Linked DNA regions of Homo sapiens: region 2 is linked to region 1. The links are contacts of gene promoters, found by promoter capture Hi-C in blood cells and fetal thymus (Javierre and others, 2016). All regions are on one chromosome and are shown on one strand. Each heading gives the region's core, a stretch centred on a gene start or on the middle of the fragment in contact. The rest is flanking DNA. Distances are from core to core; before and after follow the strand shown. Region 1 holds the start of DENND3 (DENN domain containing 3). Region 2 overlaps PTK2 (protein tyrosine kinase 2).

The links. The method cuts DNA at HindIII sites, captures the fragments that hold promoters and counts their contacts. A CHiCAGO score of 5 or more calls a contact.
Region 2: a contact is called between a fragment that was not itself captured here and the fragment with the promoter of DENND3 in region 1, in 2 of 17 cell types (erythroblasts and endothelial precursors). The highest score is 7.6, in erythroblasts.

The regions. Positions count from the first base shown.
Region 1 is chr8:141,127,339-141,130,194 of GRCh38, reverse strand. It overlaps DENND3 (DENN domain containing 3), which reads right to left and starts at 1,606. Exons shown (of 23, transcript NM_001352890.3): 1 at 1,386-1,606. The coding sequence starts at 1,487. It overlaps DENND3-AS1 (DENND3 antisense RNA 1), which reads left to right and starts at 54. Exons shown (of 2, transcript NR_183310.1): 1 at 54-171. RefSeq lists enhancers at 515-1,345, 2,179-2,856 and a silencer at 1,201-2,060. The HindIII fragment of the contact is 7,380 bases long and covers 1-2,856 here.
Region 2 is chr8:140,670,056-140,673,349 of GRCh38, reverse strand. All of the region lies in intron 32 of PTK2 (protein tyrosine kinase 2), which reads left to right. Among named protein-coding and RNA genes, the nearest start is that of AGO2, 36 kb to the right of the region's middle. The HindIII fragment of the contact is 1,896 bases long and covers 567-2,462 here.

The sequences.
Region 1 (2,856 bases), core at 357-2,856:
ATTCCAGTTGATTCGCCCTGCCCTCAAAAGACATGTGTCACACCAAGCAACTAACACCCATGTTGTAACTGCCCCAGAGGAAAGACGTTCAACGGCTGAGGAGACCACAGCGGCAACTAGGTCACTTCCTATTCGAAGAAAAAGGAGGAGATGCCATCTGGCAAATTCGAGGTAGGGAGACAAATCAATCGATGACGTTGCGAGGAGACAGAGGTCAAACGGGATCTACTGACATGACAGGGCGTTGAAGGGAAGGAAAAGTTGAGGGAAACGAGGAAACTATTTCCATAGGAGAATGCTTTTTCACTGAAGTCGAAACTGGCTTGGTACTGACGCCCAGCAGGGGAAACTCCCCGGACACTCACAGACATTCATCTGGTTACTTGCAGGAACATCTGCCTTTCCTGGTGACACCCTCTGCCCTGCAGTCTTCATTTTCCCTGGATAGCCCAGCGTCATTTAAATACTCAGAAGCCTCTCTGCCTTTCTATGCTGTTGTCTGCAAAGAGATGAACGGACCTGTGCAGACGGCTGGCCAGTGACGCCGGGATCTCTAGGTAACATGACCCAGTCACGGTGTCACAGACAGGCGGACCAGGAGGAAACCAGAGACACAGATGGATTCCAGGGAAAGCCAGCGTTACAGAATTAAGAAAAGCTGGGGAAGAAAAAGGAAAACGAGAATTTCCAAAACTGCCGCTTTCCCAGCAGAAGGGAGATGAAGTTGTCACTTTGGCTGCGAGGGTGCAGAGATGGAGGAAGGGTTGGGGGTGGGGGTGGTACCGCAAGGGAGAAAAATAGCTATAGGCTTCATCGCAAAGGGGTTCATGCAGAATACGCGAGGCCGGCGGCTAACTCTAAGATTGCTCTCTCGTTATTCTGTGCCTGGTGCAAAACCCACTACTCAGGGGACAACACATCCCAGCATAAAGAATGAAATCATTTCAGCAGCGAGGGCTGGGCCCGCTAGACCGTGAGGCTCCGGCGGCTTCCGCCCGTTGTCTGGTGCACCCCACCTTCAGAAGCACCTGCCCAAGATGGGAGCGACTGAAGAGAGAGGCCCCAGAGACTCTCCGAGGGGCGGCACCCCCAGATTCCCGGCCGGCGGACCAAGTTCGCAGCTCTCAAAAGACATGTCTCACACCAAGGGCCCCGGGCGGGGAGAGGAGAGAAGAGGGGAGGGGAGCAGGGCGCTGCTCCAGGGCACCTGCCTGAGCTCGGGCGCGATCCCCGGCCACAGGCGCGCGGGGTCACCGCCGGGGGACCGGGACTCAGCCCTCGGAAAGTCCGCGCCAACCCACAGGGCACCCGGGCGCCCGCTCTCCGACTGCTGTCCCGGCTGCCGACTCGTGGCCCACGTCCGCCTCAGTTTCCCCGCCCCTCACCTGCTCGAGACTTCGGAGACTGTCCCGGGGGGCGCCCAGCAGCGCGCAGAGCTCCAGCAGCCCCGAGGGCAGCGACAAGTGCGGCGACGCGGCCTCCGCCATGGCTGCCCGCCGCCCGCCGCCAGTACCGCACTCGGGCGCCTCAGCCGCGCAGTCGCCCGCAGACCCCTGGGGACCAGCCGCGCCGCCTGGGGGCCGGGGGCGCTGCGAGCGCCGTCTGCGGGGCGGGGCTGGAGGCGGGGCCTGGAGGGGCGGGGCCCGAGCCGAGGCGGGGCCTGGAGAGCCCCAGAGGATACCGCGGGGAGACAGAGTTTGGGGGCGGGGCTTGACTGGGCGGGGAGGTTCTGGGCGGGGCCTGGAGTGGCGTGCCCGGCCCTAGGGACCGGGACTTGGGGGCGGGGCCGGTCCTAGGGCGGGTGCTGCTGGAGACCCGCGCGCGGTCGTCATTTCCTAACCCGCCTGCGGGCCCTGGCGCGTGCGCGGCGTCGGAGCAAGCGGCCCCTTCCTTCGGCCCCGCCCAGCCCCGCCGGCCGCCCGCTCCCTGGGGAACCGAGGGAGGAATGGGCGGGGTCCTCAGGTGCCCGGCGACGTCATCCAGCCCCCAAGGCTCCAGGACGCAAAGGGTCCCCTGATCTGGCAGTCCCTGGACCTACCCTGGAGAGCGTGGGGGGACAAAGGCCGGACGCGCCGCCCGCTGCCGCCTCCAGGAAGCCCTCCCTTGCCAGGACAGTGGAGTTGGCCGGGTGTGGACAGCAGGAAGGGCCGGCGGGAAGGGGGGGTGGAAAGAGCCACTCCTGGTTAATAACTCTGCGGGGTTAACCTAGGGCCGGCCATACTCAAGTACGGACTTGAGTAAAATTCAGCAGGAAAAGGAGCAGGGTGGGCGCCGCTAGAGGGAGGCTTCAGGACTGAGGGTCAGAGGCCCAAGGCCTGGCAGGGCCCTTCCCTGGTCAGCTCCAGGCTTGGCCTGATGCCCGGTGGGCCACGGGCCTCTTCCAGCCTCAGGCTGACCCCAGAGAAAGAGGACAGCCCACAAGCCCGGGAGGCCGGCTTGCTGCCTGGTCATTGCTGCAGAGCCTGGAGGGGGCCTGCGCTCAGTCCCCGCTGACCGTCCCCTCCCTTGACCCTGCCATAGCCATCTGTGTAACCCAGGGGAAATTATTCCAAAGGGACTTCCACTTCTGATAATCTATGATTCTATTTTCTAAAAAACAAAACTCTAAAATGCTTAATGTCAAACATCTGTCATCAGCTGAACAGGAAAAGGAACAGTAAGTACAAAGCAAGGCAACATCAGAAAAGGGAGCCCTGAGGAATTTCTCCCTCCTTCCCTGAGCCGGGTGAGGCCGTGACTGCAGCCTGACTCACAGGTTTTATTTCACTTATTAACCTAAAGATGGTGAGGATCTGCTGGTTCTCCCCCAGGCCTGGAGGCTGCCTACCATCGGTGGCTCTCATCGGTGAGCTGAGG
Region 2 (3,294 bases), core at 265-2,764, 460 kb after region 1:
GATCACAAGGTCAGGAGTTCAAGACCAGCCTGGCCAACATGGTGAAACCCCGTCTCTACTAAAAATACAAAGAAATTAGCTGGGCGTGGTGGTGCATGTCTGCAATCCCAGCTACTCAGGTGGCTGAGGCAGGAGAATCACTTGAACCCAGGAGGTGGAGGTTGCAATGAGTCAAGATCATGCCATTGCACTCCAGCCTGGGCGACAGAGCAAGATTCCGTCTCGAGGTTAAAAAAAAAAAAAAGGATGCATCTTATAGTGGAAGACATCTTAAAATCCGAAAAATGTCATATCAGGTTAAGATAAACTTTGCTTTACCAATAACCACCATTTATTGACTGTCATCCCTTTACCAAGTTCTGTGGCAGTCCTTTTTCATGTATTATCAGTTCTCATGTGAACCTCACAGGACTGGTGGTGGTATCATTTCTCAGTTGACCAAGGCTCACAGAGATTAAGCAGTTTGTTCAAGGTTACACAGCCTCCACATAGCTGAGCTGTGCTTGGCCGCAGGCTTGGCTGAGCACATACTTGACTCAAAGGCACTCGCCTCCAAAGCTGAAGCTTCGTTAGATGTAGATACATTGTTGTCTTCTCAGAGTCATCAGAAAGTTAGTCCAGGGTAAGAAAAAATGTCATCTCCAGGCCCAGAGGGATAGCCTGCAGCTTAGAGGGCACAGGTTTGCCAGTGTTCATTGAGGAGGTGACCAGAGGGTGAATGGGCAGCCACTGGCACAAACTAGCCTGCTCTCTGTGGCCAAGCCTGCCCTCTGTGGCCATAGTGAAAGTACCAACTGGGCTAGGGATGCCTCTGCCCTTAGGGTTGGTGCCCAGAGTTCATGCCAGTGGCTTTTAAGTGCCTGGGAATCAGGAACTTCCTCAGTTCACCAGGCCTCCAAGCCCCAGGATGCCTCCTGACAGTTCTGTTAAAGACACACTGAGTCTTCTCCAAGGAAAATTGAGGAAGGACACACCCTTCCCAATATTGGCTTCTTTCAATAAATTTCTAAAAAGGAGCCAGACATGGTGGCGCACCTCTATGACTATAGTCCCAGCTACTCGGGAGGCTGAGGAAGGAGGATCACTTCAGCCCAGAAGTTTGAATCTGGCCTGCGCAACATAGTGAGACCCCATCTCTTTAAAAAAAGAAAAGGGGACAGAATGAGATTAATGAATTATTTATTTTCATAAGCCAAAAGAACAGACTTTCAAAATGGCTTGTATTACAATGAAAAACCAACTTTACAGGTAGATCGGTACCACCTTAGAATTCTGACATCATTATGAAACATCTTTCACAGCTGGAATAACATAATGAATACATACAATTAGGATAGGGTATGAAGCAAATTGAAATCTTGAAAATAATATGTGTACTTAAAATATATTAAGTAAAGATTCCCGCCCCCCGCCCCCCTGAGACAGAGTCTCACTCTGTTGCCCAGGCTGGAGTGCAGTGGTGCGATCTTGGCTCACTGCAAGCTCCGCCTCCCGGGTTCACGCCATTCTCCTGCCTCATCATCCCAAGTAGCTGGGACTACAGGCACCCGCCACCAGGCCCATCTAATTTTTTTTTTTTTTTTTTTTTTTGGGTATTTTTAGTAGAGACGGGGTTTCACCGTGTTAGCCAGGATGGTCTTGATCTCCTGACCTTGTGATCCGCCCGCCTCGGCCTCCCAAAGTGCTGGGATTACAGGCATGAGCCACCGCACCCGACCTAAGTAGATTTTTAAATAACATGAAATATACACCTCTGTTTCTTCATTGTCTGCTTGGTAGAGGTCATTGAATCCATCCTAAAAGAACAGTATTGTTCTAATACTGCAATGCAGCTAGGCACAGTGGCTCACGCCTGTAATTCCAACACTGAGAGGCCAAGGCAAGTGGATTGCTTGAGACCAAGAGTACCAGACCAGCCTGGCCAACATGGCAAAACCCTGTCTCTACTAAAAATACAAACATTAGCTGTGCATAGTAGTGTGACCCTATAATTCCAGCTGCTCAGGGGGCTGAGGCACAAGAATCGCTGGAATCCAGGAGGCGGTGGTTGTGGTGAGCTGAGATCACACTACTGCACTCCAGCCTGGGCGACAGAGCGAGATTCTGCCTAAAAAAAACTAATACTAAAATATTTACTTTTATGTATAACTAAAATAATTCATCCAAATAACAGCCAAAATCAGTCTCAATTTTTCCTAGGTAGCACTGCATTTTGGTTCTTAACTGAGTCTTTAAGCATCAACCTAAGTGGTTGGAATTGGCTACATCTATAGAGGGTTTATCAACTGCCTGCCAAGGAGCTTCCAAGTTGTCAAGCTCCAGAAAATAGAAAACCATTAGGATGTCTTTCCAAACAGCTTTCCCTTCTGGAATGTCACTGTGAATGGTCCCTAGAAGCATTATGACAGTGCCCCTCTACCACAATAATTGGGCAAAGGGTAAAGTAGAAAGGAACAGAAGCTTTAAACAGGTGACAACCTCCCTAGAATTACAGAATTGTCTATTTCTTCTTGATGAAACACCCTGTGGCCCCCTCCTCAAGAAGCCCTGTTGATGTAGTTTGAACTGGTACATCCTATGAAGTTAAACAGAAGACCACACTGTGACTCTCAGTGCAGAAAATAAAATACAGGAAGTCATCTCTTGGAAATGGTGTGGTTATAGTAGGATAGCGCCCTGGCTTGAGCTTTAGAGAAAACACATTAAATAAAACTGTTCAGTTTCAAGTAGTAGAACCTAATCATAAGAATCAGCTCAAAAAAGGGGTTTCTGTTCTACTTTTGTTTTTTGTTTTTAAAATAAGCTCCCAATGTGTGTGTGTGTGTGTGTGTGTGTGTGTGTGTGTGTGTGTGTGTGTGTGTTGTTGTTTTTTTTTTTTTTTTTTTTTTTTTTTGAGACACAGTGTCGCTCTGTCACCCAGGCTGGAGTACAGTGGCACAATCTCAGCTCACTGCAACCTCTGCCTCCGAGGTTCAAATGACTCTCCTGCCTCAGCCTCCCGAGTAGCTGGGATTACAGGGATGCACTACCATTACCCTGCTAATTTTTGTATTTTTAGTAGAGACAGGGTTTGACCATGTTGGCCAGGCTGGGCCTAATATCTTTAAACTCAGCCCCAAGTCAGGAATCTTTATGATAGCATTATGGCTAGATGATGAAGTGGATCTCAAGGATATTGAGGGGCCGGGCTCAGGAATTGAGGCTGCTGCAGTTTCTCCTGAATCTATGAGAATTCAGATGGGCACTTTTCAGTAATTAAAACCATATGTCCTCCTCCTCCTTTCTTTTTGAAGA